Regions from separate parts of the Homo sapiens genome. Here all the other regions are linked to region 3. The links are contacts of gene promoters, found by promoter capture Hi-C in blood cells and fetal thymus (Javierre and others, 2016). All regions are on one chromosome and are shown on one strand. Each heading gives the region's core, a stretch centred on a gene start or on the middle of the fragment in contact. The rest is flanking DNA. Distances are from core to core; before and after follow the strand shown. Region 1 overlaps SFMBT1 (Scm like with four mbt domains 1). Region 2 overlaps RFT1 (RFT1 glycolipid translocator homolog). Region 3 holds the start of STIMATE (STIM activating enhancer). Region 4 has its middle 16 kb from the start of SFMBT1. Region 5 overlaps NEK4 (NIMA related kinase 4). Region 6 has its middle 34 kb from the start of SFMBT1. Region 7 overlaps RFT1 (RFT1 glycolipid translocator homolog).

Evidence for each region. The method cuts DNA at HindIII sites, captures the fragments that hold promoters and counts their contacts. A CHiCAGO score of 5 or more calls a contact.
Region 1: a fragment that was not itself captured here is called in contact with the fragment with the promoter of STIMATE in region 3 in 6 of 17 cell types (total B cells, naive CD8 T cells, non-activated CD4 T cells and 3 more); the score reaches 7.0 in total B cells.
Region 2: a fragment that was not itself captured here is called in contact with the fragment with the promoter of STIMATE in region 3 in 1 of 17 cell types (naive CD4 T cells); the score reaches 5.3 in naive CD4 T cells.
Region 4: a contact is called between a fragment that was not itself captured here and the fragment with the promoter of STIMATE in region 3, in 6 of 17 cell types (naive CD4 T cells, naive CD8 T cells, M1 macrophages and 3 more). The highest score is 7.7, in naive CD4 T cells.
Region 5: a contact is called between a fragment that was not itself captured here and the fragment with the promoter of STIMATE in region 3, in 3 of 17 cell types (M2 macrophages, M1 macrophages and M0 macrophages). The highest score is 8.4, in M2 macrophages.
Region 6: a fragment that was not itself captured here is called in contact with the fragment with the promoter of STIMATE in region 3 in 15 of 17 cell types (naive B cells, non-activated CD4 T cells, M0 macrophages and 12 more); the score reaches 9.7 in naive B cells.
Region 7: a contact is called between a fragment that was not itself captured here and the fragment with the promoter of STIMATE in region 3, in 2 of 17 cell types (M1 macrophages and naive CD8 T cells). The highest score is 5.7, in M1 macrophages.

The regions. Positions count from the first base shown.
Region 1 is chr3:53,037,070-53,039,769 of GRCh38, reverse strand. All of the region lies in intron 1 of SFMBT1 (Scm like with four mbt domains 1), which reads left to right. Among named protein-coding and RNA genes, the nearest start is that of SFMBT1, 7.7 kb to the left of the region's middle. RefSeq lists an enhancer at 2,695-2,700. The HindIII fragment of the contact is 9,921 bases long and covers 1-2,700 here.
Region 2 is chr3:53,114,125-53,116,864 of GRCh38, reverse strand. All of the region lies in intron 6 of RFT1 (RFT1 glycolipid translocator homolog), which reads left to right. Among named protein-coding and RNA genes, the nearest start is that of RFT1, 15 kb to the left of the region's middle. RefSeq lists an enhancer at 1,332-2,531. The HindIII fragment of the contact is 552 bases long and covers 1,119-1,670 here.
Region 3 is chr3:52,895,888-52,898,819 of GRCh38, reverse strand. It overlaps STIMATE (STIM activating enhancer), which reads left to right and starts at 1,272. Exons shown (of 8, transcript NM_198563.5): 1 at 1,272-1,529. The coding sequence starts at 1,370. STIMATE-MUSTN1 (STIMATE-MUSTN1 readthrough) reads left to right here and starts at 1,272. Exons shown (of 10, transcript NM_001198974.3): 1 at 1,272-1,529. The coding sequence starts at 1,370. RefSeq lists a silencer at 1,010-1,719. The HindIII fragment of the contact is 2,208 bases long and covers 1-2,194 here.
Region 4 is chr3:53,060,152-53,063,102 of GRCh38, reverse strand. It overlaps the pseudogene SERBP1P3. Among named protein-coding and RNA genes, the nearest start is that of SFMBT1, 16 kb to the right of the region's middle. The HindIII fragment of the contact is 4,855 bases long and covers 1-2,951 here.
Region 5 is chr3:52,740,985-52,743,749 of GRCh38, reverse strand. It overlaps NEK4 (NIMA related kinase 4), which reads left to right. Exons shown (of 16, transcript NM_003157.6): 12 at 289-398; 13 at 2,251-2,339. Among named protein-coding and RNA genes, the nearest start is that of NEK4, 29 kb to the left of the region's middle. The HindIII fragment of the contact is 6,871 bases long and covers 1-2,765 here.
Region 6 is chr3:53,078,291-53,081,217 of GRCh38, reverse strand. It overlaps a transcript of RFT1 not described here. Among named protein-coding and RNA genes, the nearest start is that of SFMBT1, 34 kb to the right of the region's middle. The HindIII fragment of the contact is 1,105 bases long and covers 1,005-2,109 here.
Region 7 is chr3:53,094,910-53,097,665 of GRCh38, reverse strand. The region is part of intron 11 of RFT1 (RFT1 glycolipid translocator homolog); the gene reads left to right. Among named protein-coding and RNA genes, the nearest start is that of RFT1, 34 kb to the left of the region's middle. The HindIII fragment of the contact is 6,189 bases long and covers 1-2,756 here.

The sequences.
Region 1 (2,700 bases), core at 44-2,543, 140 kb before region 3:
CCAGCTGCTTGGGAAGCTGAGGCAGGAGAATTGCTTGAACCCAGGAGGTGGGGGTTGCAGTGAGCTGAGATGACATCACTGCACTCCAGCTTGGGCAACAGAGAGAGACTCTGTAAACGTATGGTTGTGGTAAGTTATATACATATAGCATGAATTGTACCATTTTAACCACTTTTACACGTACAGGTCAGTGGCATTAAGTACATTGACATTGTTGTGTAACCATTACCACCATCCATCTCTAGAACTTTTTTAATCTTCCCAGACTGGAACTCTGTACCCATGAAACAGGGATTCCCCAACTCCCCTCCTCCCACCCTAGACAACCACTGTTCTACTTTCTGTCTTTATGATTTTGACTATTCTAGGTACTTCATCTAAGTGGAATCATACAGTATTTATCCTTTTGTGATTGCCTTAATTCACTTAACATAATGTCTTTAAGGTTCATCCATGTTGTAGCATGTGTCAGAATTTTTTTTGAGGAAGTAAATTATTTGAAAGACTTCCACAGCAGGTAAAGTGGAGGTCAGGTCACAGAATACTGTTTGCTAGGATTTGTTTACCTCCCTTGGAAGAACTCCGTATGTGCCCAGCAGAGCCTAGAGAACCAGGTACCTTGTCCTTAGATACAGTTTGGGCACACTTGCTTATTCGAACAAAAGAAACAGAGCAGATTGTGACAGCAGGGTGGAAGACAAGGAGAACATAAAAGCAAAGGTTGCAGGAGTCCAGGGTAACATTGAGTAAGGAGTAAGGCCTTTTGGGTCTCAGGATGCCATCTTACTGTGTGATCACTGACATTCGTGGTGTGGGCCTGTGTCAAAGCATGTCGTCCAGAACAGTTAACCAAAAAAATATGTGTGTTCAGAATTGTAAATAAGCCTTCACCTATCTGAAAGGCATATTCAGTGACTCAATCCCCAGCTGTTCTGGTTAGTTGAGGTTTTGCCATATTTCACTCTTGTTTCTGTATTGATAGAAAACTAGTACGTGTTTAAAAAGGCTTAATGACTTACATAATAATGATACCACCTAATTAATGCTTTGTATTTTAGATTTGCTGTATCACTTTAATTCTGTATTTGTGAAATATAGATGTCCAATCCTGGTTGGAGAGAAAGCAGGTTTGACAGTTAAGGGTAATAGAGAGTTGAGCAGGTATGTACTTTCAGAATGGTTAAAGAGTTATATTTTCCTCCATTATTATTTTTAATGGCTGTATTAATGTAGTAAATGTGGGATGAGTTTCCTAATACTGTTTGTTACCGGGGGGAGGCCATCTCTTAATTACTGTCCTTTCTTCATGGCAAGGATGTTTTTGACTTTCTGGAAACCATTGAAGAATAGACAGTAAATGTCATGAAGCCTGATTTTTATTGTGCGTTGTGTTACTATTCAATTCTTAAGAATGGTTAGTTGTTTCCTAGAGTTAGTAAGGCTTTTCTGAGAAAGTATCAGTTTCTTTGGCATGATGTTGTCTAATAGAGCATAGAGCCACGGTAGTAAAAGTCAATGGTTAGGGGAGGAGATACAGGGTAGGAGACAGTTGTCTAAACTGGAGTGCCTGGGCTCAAGCACTTCTCCTGCCTCAGCCTCCTGAGTAGCTAGGACTACAGGTGCATGCCCCAGCACCTGGCTAATTTTTTAAAACATTTTTTTTTTGAGACAAAGTTTTGCTCTTGTTGCCCAGGCTGGAGTGCAGCGGTGCAATCTTGGCCACCTCCGCCTCCTGGTTTCAAGTGATTCTACTACCTCAGCCTCCCGAGTAGCTGGGATTACAGGTGCCTGCCACCATGCCTGGCTAATTTTTTGTATTTTTTGGTAGAGACAGGGTTTCATCATGTTGGCCAGGCTGGTCTTGAACCCCTGACCTCAGGCGATCCATCCGCCTTGGCCTCCTAAAGTGCTGAGATTACAGGTGTGAGCCACTGCGCCGGGCCTTTAAAACATTTTTTGTAGAGATGGGGTCTCTCAGTGTTGTCCAACCTGGTCTCAAAACTTCTGGCCTCAAGTGATTCTCTAGCCTCAGCTTCCCAAAGTGCTGGGATTACAGGCATGAGCCACTATGCCCAGCCTGGTTTTCATTTTTATCATTGAGCAAAATGAGCAGGGTTGGGTGGTCTAGCTAAAGATAGAAATTTGAGAAACTTCGGGTGTATTATTGTTGTTATAGGTGTTTATGATGGTATTAAAACATCTGAATCCCTTGATCTCTTAATGTAATTAATATTAATTTAATTTTATTTCTCTTTTAATGTTGGCTTTCCAGTCCTCAATCAAGTTATAGTTGCACTTAAAAATACGTAGTTTTCTTTATCGTTAATATGAATAACACCATATGCAAATTGGGAAACAGGCTTAGATCTTCTCCTAGGCATTATCTGTACCCAGTTTTCCTGTAAGTATTCAATTGGGCTCCTCAATCAACAGAGAAGAGCTTCAAATGACTTTCTTTGTTGTCAGGCTCCATTCTCAGGAATGGCTATGACAAGGGAAGCAGAGGGCTGGGTGGTCTCTTCTGGCCTCCCCTTCTAGGGAGAGTCTTCCTTTTCTGCAGCAAGTGCTTGAGGAGGGCTGCATGATCCCGCAGCCAGTCAGGGCGGTAAGACACAACTGCCCTCACCCTAGCTCCTCTCCTAGCCATTGACTTTTACTCCTGTTTTTGGCTTTCTATTGACTTTGTCTGACAGGAGTGCT
Region 2 (2,740 bases), core at 145-2,644, 220 kb before region 3:
TTGGGAGGCTGAGCGGGCAGATCACTTGAGGTCAGGAGTTGGAAACCAGCCTGGCCCACATGGTGAAACCCCGTCTCTACTAAAAATACAAAACAGTTAGCTGGGCATGGTGGCATGCGCCTGTAATCCCAGCTACTTGGGAGGCTGAGGCAGGAGAACTGCTTGAACCCAGGAGGTGGAGGTTGCAGTGAGCTGAGATCGCACCACTACACTCTAGCCTGGGCAACAGAGCAAGACTCTGTCTCAAAAAAAAAAGAGAAAGAAAAAAAGAGGCTGGGTGTGGTGGCTCAAGCCTGTAATCCCAGCACTTTGGGAGACCGAAGTGGGAGGATTGCTTGAGCCCAGGAGTTTGAGACCAGCCTGGGAAACATGGTAAGAACCCGTCTTTACAAAACATGTAAAATTTAGCTGGGCATGGTGGCACATGCCTGTGATCCCAGCTACTCTGGAGGCTGAGGCAGGAGGATCACTTGAGCCCTGGAGACTGAGGCTACAGTAAGCTGTGTTCATGCTACTGCACTTTAGCCTGGGCGACAGAGTGAAACCCTGTCTCAAAAAAAAAAAAAAAAAAAAGAAATGAGATGATTCTGAATGCATGAACGCAGTGTATGACTTTACCATGAGCAGCATGCCTGACTTGACTCCCCAGAGCAGCTTTCTGCACTGGGGACTTCCTTAATGGAAGCTGGTCAAATAATTATATTTACTATCAATTTGACTTAATTGTAAGATTTCCCTTCCTGTTCTTGTAGAATTCCATCTTCTTTAAAGATGCTTATTTAACCTTATAATAAATTAATGATACTTCAAATAATGGCTTCCGTTTATATTCATTGACATTTCTGAGGGATTTAATATGAGAGATATGCTAATATTTAAGTAAAGCTGAGGAATTTGACTCAGCAAGCATGTATTAAACATTATTATATGTTAGGCACTGTACCAGGTGCCCTGAGTGAGGCCCCTACCCTCAGAACTTGCATGGTGATGGAGAGATAGGATCTGTACTCAACTATGCTATAGGACAGTGTGTGTCTAGCGTTATCAAAATAGAAGCACAGAGGAAGGACTGCTGAATTCCATCTAGGAACATCAAGGAAGGCTTCACGGAGGAAGCTTCTTTTGTGCTGGACTTTGACACATGGGTGGGCAGAGGTTAAATGTATATGTGTGGTAGAGATGGGCATTCGTGACCACAGAAGGAAAGAAAATTTGCTCAGTGCTTGTTACCTGCCCATCATTGTGTTGGAATTGGGAATGTAGAGATGACTGGGGTACTTAGGTTGGCTGGAAAATGGGGGAAGGGAGAGAAAGGAAAAGGTGGCGGGAAGTTATGAAGGGAAGTAAACCTGGCTGCCAGGCTAGGGTCAGGTGGCAGTGGCCTCAGTGCTATGGAGCTTGGGTTTAATTCAGGGGCAGTGGAGCCTAATGAAAGGTTTTTGAACAGCACCATGATCAAACTGTCTGTATTGAGGAGCTTGCCGTCTCTTACAGAGTTATAGTGTCTTATTTTTTTTCATTCAGTCCTCATACTGGCTCCATGAGACAGGACTTCTTATCCCATTTTGCAGATGAGAAAGCCAAGGCTTAGCAAAATTAAGTATCTTGTTCACGGCGACATTTACACTAATAATTCAAGGAACTGCAGGTCGAGCCCCAATCTCCAAGCTTGACTCCAAAGCCTGAACCTGCAATGAGAAGGATAGGCTAGAGAAAGAGTAAGAAGCAAAAAAAGCTCATTGGGAGCCTGTGGCAATTGTCCAGGTGAGGAGTAAGGACAGGGGGAGGATGGATGAAAGTGGGAGGATGGATAAAGCTGGGGCAGCATCAATAGCCCCAGAGTGACTGGGATAGGTGGAGCAAGAGGGAGAGGAAGGAGTGCTCTGTAGGGTGGAGGAGGTGACAGAGGGCAGTGGACAGGATGGTAGCCCCACACTCACCAGTGACTCTTGTCATTGTGGTAAGGATGTGGCTGATCATATCATCCTGAGTCAGAAGAGTTTGGGAAGTGGACGAGTGACTCAGGTGAAAGTGTGATGAGCCTCTGAGTTCTGATTCCAGACCTTCCCTGGAGTTACCATCCATCACCTTTTACCACCTTAGCCGCCATTTCTCCGTTAGTACAGTGAGGGCAGTGGAATGGCTTGTTGGTCAGGGTATTCCAGGGAAATTCCTGGCTATTTAGATCAGCTCATCAGTACCAACCCAGCTATTGTGAAATAGGCCTCTTTTGACCGCCCCAAGTGACACCTCCATTCTGAACCTCCATTCTGAATAGAATGGTAACAGTCCACCATATGCTTCCTCTCTCCCACCACTCAGCCCCTGCCTGCAGAAGCCGCATCTCAGATTGGATTTCCTGCCTCTGTGTCCTTAATGAGCACTTTTAGTAAGTGGTGTCACCATTCCTTCTGAACCACAGGCCCATTTAAACCAAAGGCATTAGGAAAATCAAGTATGAGCTCTCAGATTAGGTACACCATCATGATCTCATTCTCCCAAAGAACTTTGTCTTTAAAGAGCTCAATCATCTTCCCAAATCCATTCACAACCTGCAGGCAAACAGGCATCACGAGAGCCTCATGACAAGCAGCAGCCTTCGTTTCCTTTTAAAAGGGGACAGGTCCTGCTTTGCTGACCCCTGGGAGGACCACCACAGCATGGCAAGGGGTGAGGAGCAGTGTGAGAGAGAGAAGGTGCTGAAGCCGGCTGTGGTCAGAATCCAAGTCTGAAGATGACG
Region 3 (2,932 bases), core at 23-2,522:
AACCCTCTTAGGTAATTGGAATTTGGGGGGCTATTTAATAGGAAACTTTTTCCTAGAGATGATATTTACCGTTGAAAACACGTAGCTCAGTATCAACTGGACTTACACCATATGTTCACTGACATTCTGCAGCAGGAAGGTCAGCGGCTCTAGAGCACCAACAAGAAGGTATCCAGAGAGAGCCCAGATTGGGCTGGGAGAATGGGTGAGTGTCAACTGGACTTACACCATGTGTTCACTGACATTCTGCAGCAGGAAGGTCAGCGGCTCTAGAGCACCAACAAGAAGGTATCCAGAGAGAGCCCAGATTGGGCTGGGAGAATGGGTGAGTGTCAACTGGACTTACACCATGTGTTCACTGACATTCTGCAGCAGGAAGGTCAGCGGCTCTAGAGCACCAACAAGAAGGTATCCAGAGAGAGCCCAGATTGGGCTGGGAGAATGGGTGAGAGAATGGGGACTCAGGGTCTTGTTAAAGGCAGAGCACAGGTTCTGAGAAGTTGGAAAGGGTTAGATGGGAGTGTGTGTGTGCAGGGGGATGTTGGAGCCTGGAAAATACCAACCATTTGTCTTTTACACTCTAAAGGTAGTTGTGCTCCCCAAGTGAATAAGGTGGGACATGTGCACGTCAGGTTTTCAGTGTGAAACCTGGTATATTTCCAAATGAAAGTGATTGGATTCAGGTGACCATTTAAATTATGTCTATGAAAAAAGAAAATAGACTTGGGGCCTTGATAAGCCTTTAGCTAGGGAAGTAGGAAAAAGACTCAAATGTCTGGGTTGGAGGGAAGACTCCTGTACTCAGTCTCAGATTGTTTTCCTTATTCACTTGCTTCAGAATAATCCAGGCTGCAAACTATTGGGACCCACCCCAGAACTACTGAATCACGATCTCTGAGGGTGGAATTCAGGAATGATGATAATTTCTCCAGGATATAGGGATTTTCCTTAGAGGGAAAAATAATTTGACCACAGGCCGTCCCAGCTCCTACCTCCGGACCTGGAGCTCGTGATTCCCAGGCTCTCATTCCGGTCTGCGGTGGCCGGCTCACCTGGCCTGTCTACCTGCGGGCGTGGCGGGGTTGGAGAGGGGAGCGGGACCCGCGACCCCGCCCCGTGGCCCGGCCGGAGCCCCGCCCCTCGGGGGCGGGTGGGGAGAGCTGCCGCGGCCGAGGCCCGCCCCAACCTTGGCTGCGCCAATCAGGCACTGCGATCTCAGACGTCGGGTTACGCGCGGCGCGGAGTCGGCGGCCGGGCGGAGGTACCGGCTCAGGCTTGGGATCCCGGCTGCGGGTTTGGCGGCGCTGCGCCGGCAGGCAGCGAGGCCGGGCGGGCCCTGGGCCCTCGCGCCCCTCCCGCGAGGCCTGTCATGCAGGGCCCCGCCGGGAACGCGAGCCGGGGACTGCCAGGCGGGCCGCCCTCCACAGTCGCGTCCGGGGCGGGCCGCTGCGAGAGCGGCGCGCTCATGCACAGCTTCGGCATCTTCCTGCAGGGGCTGCTCGGCGTCGTGGCCTTCAGCACGTTAATGCGTGAGTCTGGGACCCCCCGACCCTCCGGAGGCCCTGCGCGGCAGCCGCGGCCCGGCCCCCCTGGGGGCCCCTCCTGCGCGGAGAGTTCAGGCCTTGGGACCCGAATTGCTCCTCCCCCGCAAACCCAGGCTGGGTATTCCTGCACTAGGGGTAGCCCGAGCCCCTCACCTACTCGCTGTGGCCTCCAGACAGGAGTGACCCTTCCCCTTTCCACCTTAAACGTCTGTCTTTTGAGACGCCAGTCTAAAACTCGCCTACCTCCCACCTTACCATCTCGAATTGTTACCCCACTTCCCAGCCTGGAATCATGACCCCCAAGGGTGACATCCCCTTGTCCGCCCCTTCTCAGGGGCTCTTCGTGCTTAGAACCCACATCCCTCAATCCCCAGTGCGATGCTGAGCTCTTTTCTGCCCCTTCACTCTTCAAGGATCTGCCTTCTCCGTTCACATTTAAATCCTGCTACTTTGCATCCCTCTCAACACCTGGAGTGTTAGGGCCATGCCTTCCGTTTCCCAGTACCCGCCTCCCTCTCCGTGGCCCTTCTTCCTCAGCTTTAGTTTCCCTTTTGTCAGGGTAGGACCCACCCAGTCTGCCTTCTTCCCCAGATCCCCTTCCTCTCGTTTCTTCCGGAACAGGCCCACCTGTTCCATCTCTGTCCCAAGCTTTCCTAATAAGCCGCATCTATAGCTTCCCCTGGCTGTTCCCTTTCCACTTTTATTCTTTATATTTTAAGTTTCCTTTTCCATTAAACTTGGGCACCTTAGTGGCTGAATAGAGAAGGAAGCCCCCACCCTGTTCTCATGTGTGCTGATGGGGGGTGGGGGGGGGCTTCTGTTTTTCATCGTGTGCATCCTTCCCTTATTAAAGTAACAAGAAGTTTTGCTCGACATGTAAGCCTAGGAGTGCCCTTGTGACTGCGTTTTAGGGGGAAGGAAAGGTTATAACTATCTGTGCAGAGTCATTAATTCCAAAAATGACTTGTTCTCAAAACTTCCCCACTGTGCTTGTGTGGACAGAGTGGAGAGTTCCTGCAGAAAGTATGCTTTGGGGTACTCAGGAGGGATCTTGCAGCTGTGTGCCTTTGTCTTGTGGGGTCCAGTTGCTGGAGTGGCCACCTTGCTTGTTTATAACTTGGGGTTTCTTTGAGTGAATTCTCTCAGGCTTTAAGTAACCCTGAAGAGGCTCTGATCATGGATACCGCGTTCTTCTGGTGGCCTGTCCTTGATAAGTCTTATAAGTGCCCAACTGTCTATGTTTGCCACTTTTTCTTTCCTTTTTAGTCCCAACTTGCCTTGCTTTTTCTCTGCTAAACAAATACCCACTTGTTCCCACAGTAATAATTTGTGACAACTTAGCCAAAATCCGCTGCTGACTTGGGCGCATGTACTGTACGTGTGTGTTT
Region 4 (2,951 bases), core at 52-2,551, 160 kb before region 3:
CCACCAGGGTGGGTGGAATAAGTTGATTTGGCCAATGTGTAATATTTAAAGTGTTCTATACAGTAAGTGTCTGGCCATTTGGTATGATTTCTGTGTGTGAAAGATCCTAAAATCAAAATGGTATATCCATAATCAGCAACCATTTAAACCTTCCTTGTTCTAAAACAAGCAAAAAAATCTAAAGGGCACTGGTTGGTAGGATGAGGTTGGGGAGTATTTTAATTTTTGGAATTTGGGAAGCAGACAGCTTTACTTTATAAGGTTAGAACAGCAGCACCATCCATTAAATATAAACCGAAAATCTTTACTGTTTCTAAATTTCCTAGATTGTTATTATTTGGTCCTAAGTTGAGTATTTGTTCCACAGAAAGTAATAATTATCTTCTCCCTCTTCCTCCATTAGAAAATTAGGTTAATAATGGATTCCTTTAATGGGAGCATCACCACGTATTAAAACATCCATGGAGAGAATGATGAATAAGAAAAGTTTTCTAGGATTGTCTTTTATTCTGCCACATTTATTGTTAAACAGGGAAGGAATTTTTAAAAAAGTTTTAAGAATCGTTCGTCACTTCATTTTTAGAAATGTTCTACCTGTATATGGTAATGTCCAGTTTTAAAAATATTGGACATCTTCAATCTTAAACATTTCTATTTAGCTGATTGGTTCTCACATATACTTCTAAAAGGGAAATTGTGCATTACAAGAGTTACTTATTTGGATTAGATTTATTAATCTCAGTTACCTACTATTCTGATATTTTAGGAAGGAGGTAATTGTTTTTAATGATGGATAAACTTGTGCTGGTGTTTTGGATCTTATGCTGAGCATGTTCTGCACTGATGCTAATGTCTAATATACCTGCTACCCAGAGATTAATTTAGTCCGTAAGGACTATTGACCCCTCTTAAGACTGCAACATACACACTCCTAAATCAGTGTGTTTAGATTTTTCAAGTATCTAACTCATTTCTGAACATGTACCATGTTTATAAACCTCTGATTTCCAGCAGCATATTATAGAAAACACCTGCTATTAAAAACACTTCACAACTTCTACGCAGTGTCACTCATTGCTATCTTGAGAGACAACACAGCAATACCTGGTATGTTGCAAGTTTTCAAGATAGCCAGAACTTAAAAAGTTGGTCCATTAGTTGTATCTGATGGATATAAATTTGCCTCCTAGTTCACTTTGTATCAAGAGCTAAAATTGTGAACCTTTCTCTTACTGGTGGGTAATAACTGAAAATAAAGATTTATTTTCATGCTCACTTCTTTTTTTTTTTTTTTTTGAGATGGAGTCTCGCTCTGTCACCCAGGCTGGAGTGCAGTGGTGCGATCTCAGCTCACTGCAATCTCCGCCTCCCAGGTTCAAGCAATTCTCTTGCCTCAGCCTCCCAAGTAGCTGGGAGTACATGCCACCACGCCCAGCTAATTTTTGTATTTTTAGTAGAGACGGGGTTTCACCATTTTGGCCAGACTGGTCTTGAACTCCTGACCTCAGGTGATCCACCCACCTCGGCCTCCCAAAGTGCTGGGATTACAGGCGTGAGCCACTGCACCAGCGTCATGCTCACTTCTTAAAAGTCATAAAGACAATCAAATAGGATCCTGTTTATCGTCACGCGTTTCCTGGTTTCTGAACTGTGTGCACATCCTTGTGTGCTTTTTTTTGTGATGGAGTCTCGCTCCTGTCGCCCAGGCTGGAGTGCAATGGTGCCATCTCGGCTCACTGCAACCTCCACCTCCCAGGTTCAAGCAATTCTTCTTCCTCAGCCTCCCGATTAGCTGGGATTACAGGCGTGCACCATCACACCCAGCTAATTTTTGTATTTTTAGTAGAGACGGAGTTTCACCATGTTGGCCAGGCTGGTCTCAAACTCCTGACCTCAGGTGATCCACCCACCTTGGCCTCCCAAAGTGCTAGGATTACAGGCGTGAGCCACCGCGCCTGGCCTCCTGTGTGCTTATGTTTAATTTTTTAAATTGAATTTTATATGGAGTTTTTATTTGCTAAAAACCAGGCTGTTGAATCACTTTTGGAAAGGGTACCTATCTTAATGACTAACAACTTAATTGGGAAAGTTGAGTTCTTGTAAAATAGAAAACAAGGACTTCTTGGATTAAATCCAACTGTCACTTCTTAGCAGATCATTTTTTGATAGTGAAAGTTAAGCATACTGAATGCTACTTTTTATTGACAAACTGGCTATAATACTCTAGAAGAAAAAAATCCCTAAATGGATACAGATTCCTAAAGTAATAGTGGCAGCAGATGTTTCAGTGAACTTTTATCTTGACACTTTTAAATAGAAGTAATGCCAGAGCTGAAATTTTTAAGGCACTTACAGCTTGTATCGAAATTATTGGAGACATGGTTTCTTCATTAGCTATTTTGAGAACTGTGGAGTTATGCAAGATTTTTAAAAAGTGGCACCAGGGGGCCAGTTGTGGTGGCTCACGCTTGTAATCCCAGCACTTTGGGAGGCCAAGGCAGGCGGATCACCTGAAGTTAGGAGTTCAAGACCAGCCTGGACAATGTGGTGAAACCTCGTCTCTACTAAAAATACAAAAAATTAGCGGGGTGTGGTGGCGCATGCCTGTAATCCCACCTACTCGGGAGGCTGAGGCAGGAGAATCCCTTGAACCTGGGAGGCGGAGGTTGCGGTGAGCTGAGATCACGCCATTACACTCCGGACTGGGCAACAAGAGCAAAACTCCGTCTCAAAAAAAAAATGTGGCATCAGGTACTATACATCTAGTTAGTTCCTTTACTCTGTTTTATTTTTTAAATGAAAGTAGGATACATCATTTCCAGGACTGTCAATATATTTGGGGCTTGTTTTTGGTATGGATTTGGATGGAGGATATTAAGTATTCATTCATTCTAATTTTGTTATTTTTCTAATTGCCAGAGATGGTTGCACTGAAATAGAAACACATTACA
Region 5 (2,765 bases), core at 231-2,730, 160 kb after region 3:
ATCTCATTTCACATTTACAGTACTGCCAAAATATGCAGCATTATCCTCATTTTGCAGCTAAGGAAACAGAGGCTCTGAGGAGTTAAGTAACTTGCCCAAGGTCACAGAGCTGGTGGACCTAGAGCTAAGATTTCAACTGAGGTGTCAGACACCAGAGAAATGATAAATATGCTGTTTGACTTACTTTTGGGCTAGCTCCTGCTGGGGTATGTTCCATACCAAATACAAAGCCCTTTTCAACTGGGGCAGCCCACCACAAACAACTACTGGGGATGTTTGCCTTTTCAGGCCCTTCAGTGAGGAAAGCGTCTCTGAGTGTAGCAGGGCCAGGAAAACCCCAGGAAGAAGACCAGCCCTTGCCTGCCCGACGGCTCTCCTCTGACTGCAGCGTCACTCAGGTGCATTACGTACTCCTAAGAGAGAAGGTGGACAGTCTACATCTGGCAGGCCTAATGCAGTAAACCTTTTAAATGTCAGCTCCATTTATTTTTGGGACAGGGCCAGCTTGTTATATCTTTTCACTCTTGATAAAGAAAGGAACTGGTAAATAATAGTCAAAAGGATTATGATTGACCCATTAAGGGAATAAATTTTTCAGGTACTCTTGTAAACAATTGATAGCCTAATTAAAAATATTTCATAGGTTGGTCTTAACAGGACTTCCTGGCCTGATGCAGTGGCTCACGCTTATAATACTAGCACTTTGGGAGGCCAAGGTGAGAAGATTGCTTTAGCCCAGGAGTTTGAGATCAATCTGGGCAATATAGTTGGACCCTGTCTCTAAGAAAAAAAAATTACCTGGCAAGGTGGCGCACACCTGTAGTCCCAGCCACTCGGGAGGCTGAGGTGGAAGGATCACTTGAGCCCAAGAGGTTGAGGCTACAGTGAGTTGTGTTCACACCACTGTGCTTTAGCCTAGGTGACAGAGCAAGACTCTGTCTCAAAAATATAAATAAATAAATAAGTAAATAAATAACAGAACTTTCTAAGGGCTTGCACTAGGCAGCACTTTGCTCAATCTGCTGTGATACCAACATACCCATCTGTGTCGCCAGATTTGAGTCTCACTTGCTAATCATTCCTCAGTTTCTTATTTGTGTCAATGTAGTTTACCTTCTTGCCTGTAGATGATGTAGGGACACCATCTGGTGGCTAAATGGGTAATTACTAGGTTTCTAACCCATGTTCACCTCTCTGTATAATACTCTGGGAATTCTTCCTGTTCTTTGAAAGTATTGGATGTATTATTTCTTTAACTATATCATTTAGTTATTTCACTAATAGAGGCTGCCTTCCATATCTCAGAGTTGTAAGGTTTATGTGTATTTTTAGGTGATCCTTTAAAGCACTTTAACAGTCTCACATTAAGAGCAAGCTGAAGCTGGGCATGGTGGCTTGTGGGTGTTATCTCAGCTACTTGGGAGGCCAAGGAAGGAGGATTGCTTGAGCCCAGGAGTTTGTGGCCAGCCTGGACAACATAGTGACACCCCTGTATCCAAAAAAAAGAAAAAAAAAAAGACAAGCTGAGTTTGCCTAGGTAATTTAAAATGCCAACATTCCTATAGAACAAGCCTTCTGCTTAGGAGTTGATAAACCAGAACTAGCCATCCACTGTCCTCTGGAAATTTCTTCACAGCTGAGACTCTCCAGGACCTTTGTAAAACTTCACCTTGGGCAGGCGCGGTAGCTCATGCCTGTAATCCCGGCACTTTGGGAGGCTGAGGCAGGCGGATCATGAGGTCAAGAGTTGGAGACCAGCCTGGCCAACATGGTGAAACCCTGTCTCTACTAAAAATACAAAAATTAGCTGGGCGTTGCGGCACGTGCCTGTAATCCCAGCTACTCGGGAGGCTGAGGCAGGAAAATCACTTGAACCAGAGAGTCGGAAGTTGCTGTGAGCCGAGATCGTGCCACTGCACTCTAGCCTGGCGACAGAGCAAGACTCTGTCTCAAAAAAACACAAAAATCAAAACAAAAAAAAAACAAACAAAATAAAAAACTTCATCTGATGTTCTTCAGTTATTCTTGTGGACTTTATGAGTGAACTGGGATATCACGGGTAAAATCACTTCAATGTTTTTTTCTTTTTGCCACAAATCATATGGGAACAATTTTTGTATTTGTTAGATTCTCCTGTTATATTGCACCTAGGAACGTATTGTGTCTAGTTGTTGCATCTAAGACTGGTTCAAGTATCACATTCTGGTTGTGTTGTCATGTAGAATTTTAATTCTTCCAAACATTTAATAGGAAAGGAAACAGATTCATTGTCTGTCTGAGGATGAGTTAAGTTCTTCTACAAGTTCAACTGATAAGTCAGATGGGGATTACGGGGAAGGGTAAGTTCTTGTTTTTCTGTCTCCCTTTATAAACTATTTCTGTTTTAATGAATATTAAATGTGCATTTTCAGTAGTATTTAGATCTCTAGTATTCCCACTGATAAAATTATAAATGGTTTGTGGCATATGCTGGAGCTAAAAGTGTCTCTTCTTTTTTTTTTTTTTTTTTTTTTGAGACGGAGTTTCGCTCTTGTTGCCCAGGCTGGAGTGCAGTGGCACAATCTCCGCTCACTGCAAGCTCCGCCTCCCGGGTTCACACCGTTCTCCTGACTCAGCCTCCCAAGTAGCTGGGACCACAGGCGTCCGCCACCATGCCCGGCTAGTTTTTTGTATTTTTTTAGTAGAGATGGCGTTTCACCGTGTTAGCCAGGATGGTCTCGATCTCCTGACCTCGTGATCTGCCCACCTCGGCCTCCCAAAGTGCT
Region 6 (2,927 bases), core at 308-2,807, 180 kb before region 3:
GGCCTAGAATGCATGGCGTTGATGAACTCAGGTCACCGTTTCTTTCCCTTGGCTTCATTTGGGCTGGTTCTTATGATGTCCTCAGGAGCCCTGGAACCAGCACTGCCCAGCCTCATCCTCACACCTCTCCCCATGCCCCAGCCAGGGAGGCACTCGCCTGTGTCAGGCCTGGTGGCCCTGTTCTTATGACCCCCCTAGGCTGCTCTGTCCCCATCAGGCTCCTCGTCCTTTCTTGCAACAGCCCTATATTCTTTCTCCCTTGAGAATTAGAAAGGCAGGTGTGTGTGGTGGGGCCAGGAGTTTGGCGGGGAGGGAAACGTGTCCAGAGAGGGCTTTGAGGCAGCTGTGGCTTTGCTTCCCCAGGCCTAGTCACTGGACCCAGCCCAGCTACCCTGCTACCCTACCCCCTTCAAGCTGTGAATCTTTGAGCAAAGTGCTTGATCCCCCTGTGCCTCAGTTTACTCATCTAAAAATGGGCACAATAGCACTTGCCTCATAGGGTGTAGTAAGGAGTGAGAGGAGGTAGGTAAAGCACTAGACAGGGATGCCTAGCTCTAGCCTAGTGGACTTGAACGAGTGGAATTTTAAATCTGCCCAACACAAGGTTACAGAGGGACTGTGGTCCCTGGAATCGTTTGTTTCCCCACTACTGCTTCCTCCTCCCACCTAACCCCAGTCCACAGAAGTGCACGTGGTGGTGGAGCATCTTTTAAAATTCCAATGGAAACATTGCTTTACCCTCTCCTGAAAGACGAAGCTGCAGGTGAAGAAGAAACGAAAACTGCTTTTAGGCCCAGCTGGCCCTGCAGGAGCTTTGGCGGGTAAGGGTGTCAGGCAGGGAGACTGTGCAGAGCCAGGCATCTGGATGTGGATTTGAGGTGTCCTTAGCCTTGGAAACCCCAGTGACTAGGCCCGGGGAAGAAACGCCATGGCTGCCAGCAAATGCTCTTTCAGACACACATTCCGCACACCTCCCCAGGACAAGAAGGGATGCTCCAGAAGCTTGTTAAATGATTTCCACCAATTTCAGAAATTGCCTCAGCTAGTTGTTTATATTTCCCATCAGCCTTAGATTAAGACAGAAAGAAAATGGGGCCCTGGCGTCAGGAAAGAAGGTGGCTTTGTCCAGGGAGGGACAGCTGCTGTGGCAGTTTCTGAAGAAAGTGGAAAGGCATGAATGGGCCCTGCCATGTGTTGGGTGGCCACAGGCATGAGCTCTCCTGGTCTCGGCTTTCCAAGGCCCGGGCCACGGTGGCCCACGAGGACACCCCTGCACCCCCACATGGCCTCACCCACCAATTGCCAATGTCCTCACCTTGAACCCACTCATCACAGGCTGATCCAGAAACTTGCTGAGTTTTGTTTTGTTGCAAACACTGATTTGCTTTGTTGTTTTTTTTACTTCACTGGGATGTAGGATGCCAGGTTAAGATGGACTGGTTTCTCCTGCCAGAAGCAGCTTTGAATTTAGGATGCCCAGAGGGTGCTGTCTTTTTCTTTTGACAGAGTCGTGGTCTGTTGCCCAGGCTGGTGTGCAGTAGTGCGATCTAGGCTCACTGCAACCTCTGCGATTCTCCTGCCTCAGCCTCTCAAGTAGCTGGGATTACAGGCGCCCACCACCATGCCCAGCTAATTTTTCTATTTTTACTAGAGACAGGGTTTTGCCCTGTTGGCCAGACTGGTCTCGAACTCCTGACCTCAGGTGATCCACTCGTCTCAGCCTCCCAAAGTGCTGGGATTACACATGTGAGCCACTGTGCCCAGCCTAGGGTGCTGTCCTGAACACTATTGATAAGGTGGAGTTTTCCTGGGAAGGGAAGAGTGTTCTGCCTACAGACTTGTGGACATCAGGGAGACACCAGATGTGTCTGGGCCCAGCGCTGATCCTTGGGGAAGGTGTGAGGCCATGGACATTTGGGGTGTGGGTCATATCTGAGTAGTGGGGATCCATCAGGCCTTCCTCTTCCTCCTTCTCATTGTCAAAGAGCCGTGACCTGAGTGTACCTGGTTCTGATCCGACAGCCCACTGCTAAAGGCCTCCCTCATTTCTATCAGCGTCTGTGGGACATTCCCTTCAACTGTGCAGGAGTCCTGGTTGCCTTTGAAGCTTGGAAATGATGTTTTACCACATCCCCACTGCCCACTGGGCCAGAGGACCTGCTGTTGATCCAGACAATCAACAGAGCTGGAGAGCCCGGAACTGTATTCCGATCCCAGCCCTGCCTTTTACTCCTTGTGAGATCTAGCAGGTAGCTTTGCCTTTTCTCCATCTGCAGAAGGTTCTAATAATCCCTGCTCACTCTTGCTCCAGGGCCATTGTGGGGCCAAGGAAAAGTTGGGGTTCAGCAGTTCTTTGGGGTGGAATGGAGAGTTGGAGAGCCAGTGGGCCTGTGCATACCAAGGCTGGAGCCTGGGTCCTGCAGGGGAGCTAGTCCAGCACAGAGGTCACGGTGGAGATTAAAATATTCCTTTTTTTGAAACAGGATCTGGAGCTGCTGCCTGGGCTGGAGTGCAGTGATGCAATCATAGCTTACTGCAGCCTCAATCTCCAGGGCTCAAGTGATCCTCTAGCCTCAGCCTCTGGAGTAGCTGGGACCACAGGCATGAGCCACCATACCCGACTAATTTTTTAAAAATTATTAGTAGAGATGGGGTCTCACTATGTTGCCCAGGCTAGTCTCACACTCTTGATCCTCCCACCTCGACCTCCTAAAGTACTGGGATTACAGGCGTGAGCCACTGTGCCTGGCCAAGTTTAAAATATTCTATACCATGTGTTATTTTTCCTGATAAGTGATTTTATCTCCTGATATTATGTATTTTATGTATTTCTTGCTATTTAATTACAAATTATCCTGAGGGCAACCAGTGCCCTGCAGAAAGTCACAGAAACACTGGGTCCATGTCCTGCCCGAGGCCAGTCCTGA
Region 7 (2,756 bases), core at 197-2,696, 200 kb before region 3:
GTGTTGAAGGGGTGAATGAAAACCAAACCCATTTAAGATGTTTTTATACATTGCAACCAAATTGTGAGGGAATATGGATAGTGGCTGGTTGCTTTCTTTTCTCTTATATTGTATTGAACCAAAGGAAACAACTTTTTAAGTTAGCTGTAATGGAATTTCGATAGTATATAAACATGTGGAAAATTATTTTCATAGTATTAGTCAACATAGAGAAAAAACAGAGCCCAGAGCACCTTCTAGTGCAGTTCCCATGTGGGGTAACTCACCTCCCCTAAGAGTAAAATGTGATATTAAGTGCAGTTTTCAGACATGTATAAAACACAATAGTTCCAGTTCTTTCTGGGCCCCTGGCCCCAGCGCCTGGCCCTGGTCTGAGCACGTGGAATACCTGGGCTCATCACAGACGTTGGCATTTTTTTTTTTTAATCTCTGTGAATTTTAACAGACAAAAAACTCTAGCAAGGATTTTTATAGTAGAATTGGATAGCTTAGTTAACTGTTACAATCAATTATAATGACTTTGCATTGGACATTTCAGATTCTGAATAGAAAAAAAGCAGGCATTTTACTTAACCAACTTAAGGTTAACCAGTGTTTTTCTGAATAAAAATAGAGCATTTGGGCCGGGCACGGTGGCTCACACCTGTAATCCCAGCACTTTGGGATGCCAAAGCAGGTGGATCACCTGAGGTCAGGAGTTCGAGACCAGCCTGGCCAACATGGTGAAACCCTGTCTCTACTAAAAATACAAAAATTAGCTGGGCGTAGGGGCGCACGCCTGTAATCCCAGCTACCCGCGAGGCTGAAGCACAAGAATCACTTGAACCTGGGAAGCGGAGGTTGCAGTGAGCGGAGATCATGCCATTGCACTCCAGCCTAGGCAACAGAGAGATTCTGTCTCAAAAAATATATAGAGAGAAGAGAGCATTTGGTTGTATATGAAATATTAAAACATCCTTTGAATTGCAGGTTGCTTTTTTTTGAGACAAGAGTCTCGCTCTGTGGCCCAGGCTGGAGTACAGTGGTGTGATCTTGGCTCACTGCAGCCTCCGCCTCCCAGGTTCAAGTGATTCTCCCGACTCAGCCTCCCGATTAGCTGGGATTACAGGTGTGCGACCATGCCCAGCTAATTTTATTTTTATTTTTAGTAGAGACAGGGTTTCACCATGTTGGCCAGGCTGGTCTCGAACTCCTGACCTCAGGTGATCTGCCCATCTCAGCCTCCCAAAGTGCTGGGATTATAGGAGTGAGCCAACGTGCCCGGCCTGGTTGCTTTTTTTTTAATAACCTCATAATATATATAGAATCTGATTGATGGATTTTTCATTATGCCTTATTGAAGAATTTTTGTTGTTTTGTTAAGGCTGTCTAATTTTCTTTCATTTCGCAAATACTTTTGAGCATCTACTCTCTAACAGGCATTGTTTTAAGCTCTAGGAATACAGCAATGAATAAGACAGATGGGATTTCTGCTCTCCTGGAGCTGACGGTGGGGAGGCAGATAGCAAACAAGTAAATTAATAAGAAAATGTGATGTGCTGAGAATGAAAACGGGTATATAGTGAGTGGTAGGGGCCCTTTAGATTGGGTTTGCTGGGCAGGCCCCTATGGCACAGCGCCATTTAGGATGACCAAGAAGGTGGTCTAAGATGGGGGCAGAGACTTCTAGGCAGATCAGTTGTGTAAAGGCCCAAGATTGACAGCTCCTTTGTCTGATTTGTTGGCCTTTGAGTGCCAAAGTGGACTCCATAACTGTCAAATGAAGGCTGGGTATGATCTTCTCACTTTGGCACATAAGATATCAGTGCCATCCTTTTCATGGCTGTGAAGGCTCGATTGTATGGCTGTGCCTTGATGTATTCAACCAGCACCTGCTGGGGGCTTCTTCAGGTGGTGCTACAGTTGATATCCTCGACCATCCATGCCTTTTTTTTTTTTTTAACTTTTTTTGAGACAGGGTCTCACTCTGTCGCCCAGGCTGAAGTGCAGTGGTACAATCATAGCTCACTACAGCCTGACTTCTTAGGCTCAATCGATCCTTCCACCTCAACCTCCTGAGTAGCTGAGACTATAGGTGTGTACTACCATGCCCAGCTAATTTTTGTATTTTTTGTAGAGACGGAGTCTCTGGGCACCATGTTTCCCAGGCTGGTCTCCAACTCCTGGGCTCAAGCGATCTGCCTGCCTTAGCCTCCCAAATGCTGGGATTACAGGCATGAGCCACTGTGCCCAGCCAGTCCATCTTTTAATAAGCCTGATTTTAAGTCCAGTATTTTCTTGGGACCATGGAGAAATAAGTATTCATAAATAATTTACTGTTTATGTTAACCAAACCTTACAGGATAGTCATATTGTCACCGATTAATAATTTTGCTTTGATTTTAAAAAGTGATTTTTTTTTTTTAAGACGGAGTCTTGCTCTGTCTCCAGGCTGGAGTACAGTGGCGTGATCTTGGCTCACTGCAACCCCCGCATCCCGGGTTCAAGCAATTCTGCCTCAGCCTCCTGAGTAGCTGGGACTACAGACGTGCACCACCAAGCTCAGCTAATTTTTGTATTTTTAGTAGAGACAGGGTTTCACCATGTTGGCCAGGACGGTCTCGATCTCTTGACCTCGCGATCTACCCGCCTCGGCCTCCCAAAGTGCTGGGATTACAGGCATGAGCCACCGTGCCCGGCCAAAAAAGTGATATTTTAATTGCATTTTTAAAATTCTCATTTTTTCCTGAAGTGGATTATGCCTTTAAGGCTGTAGA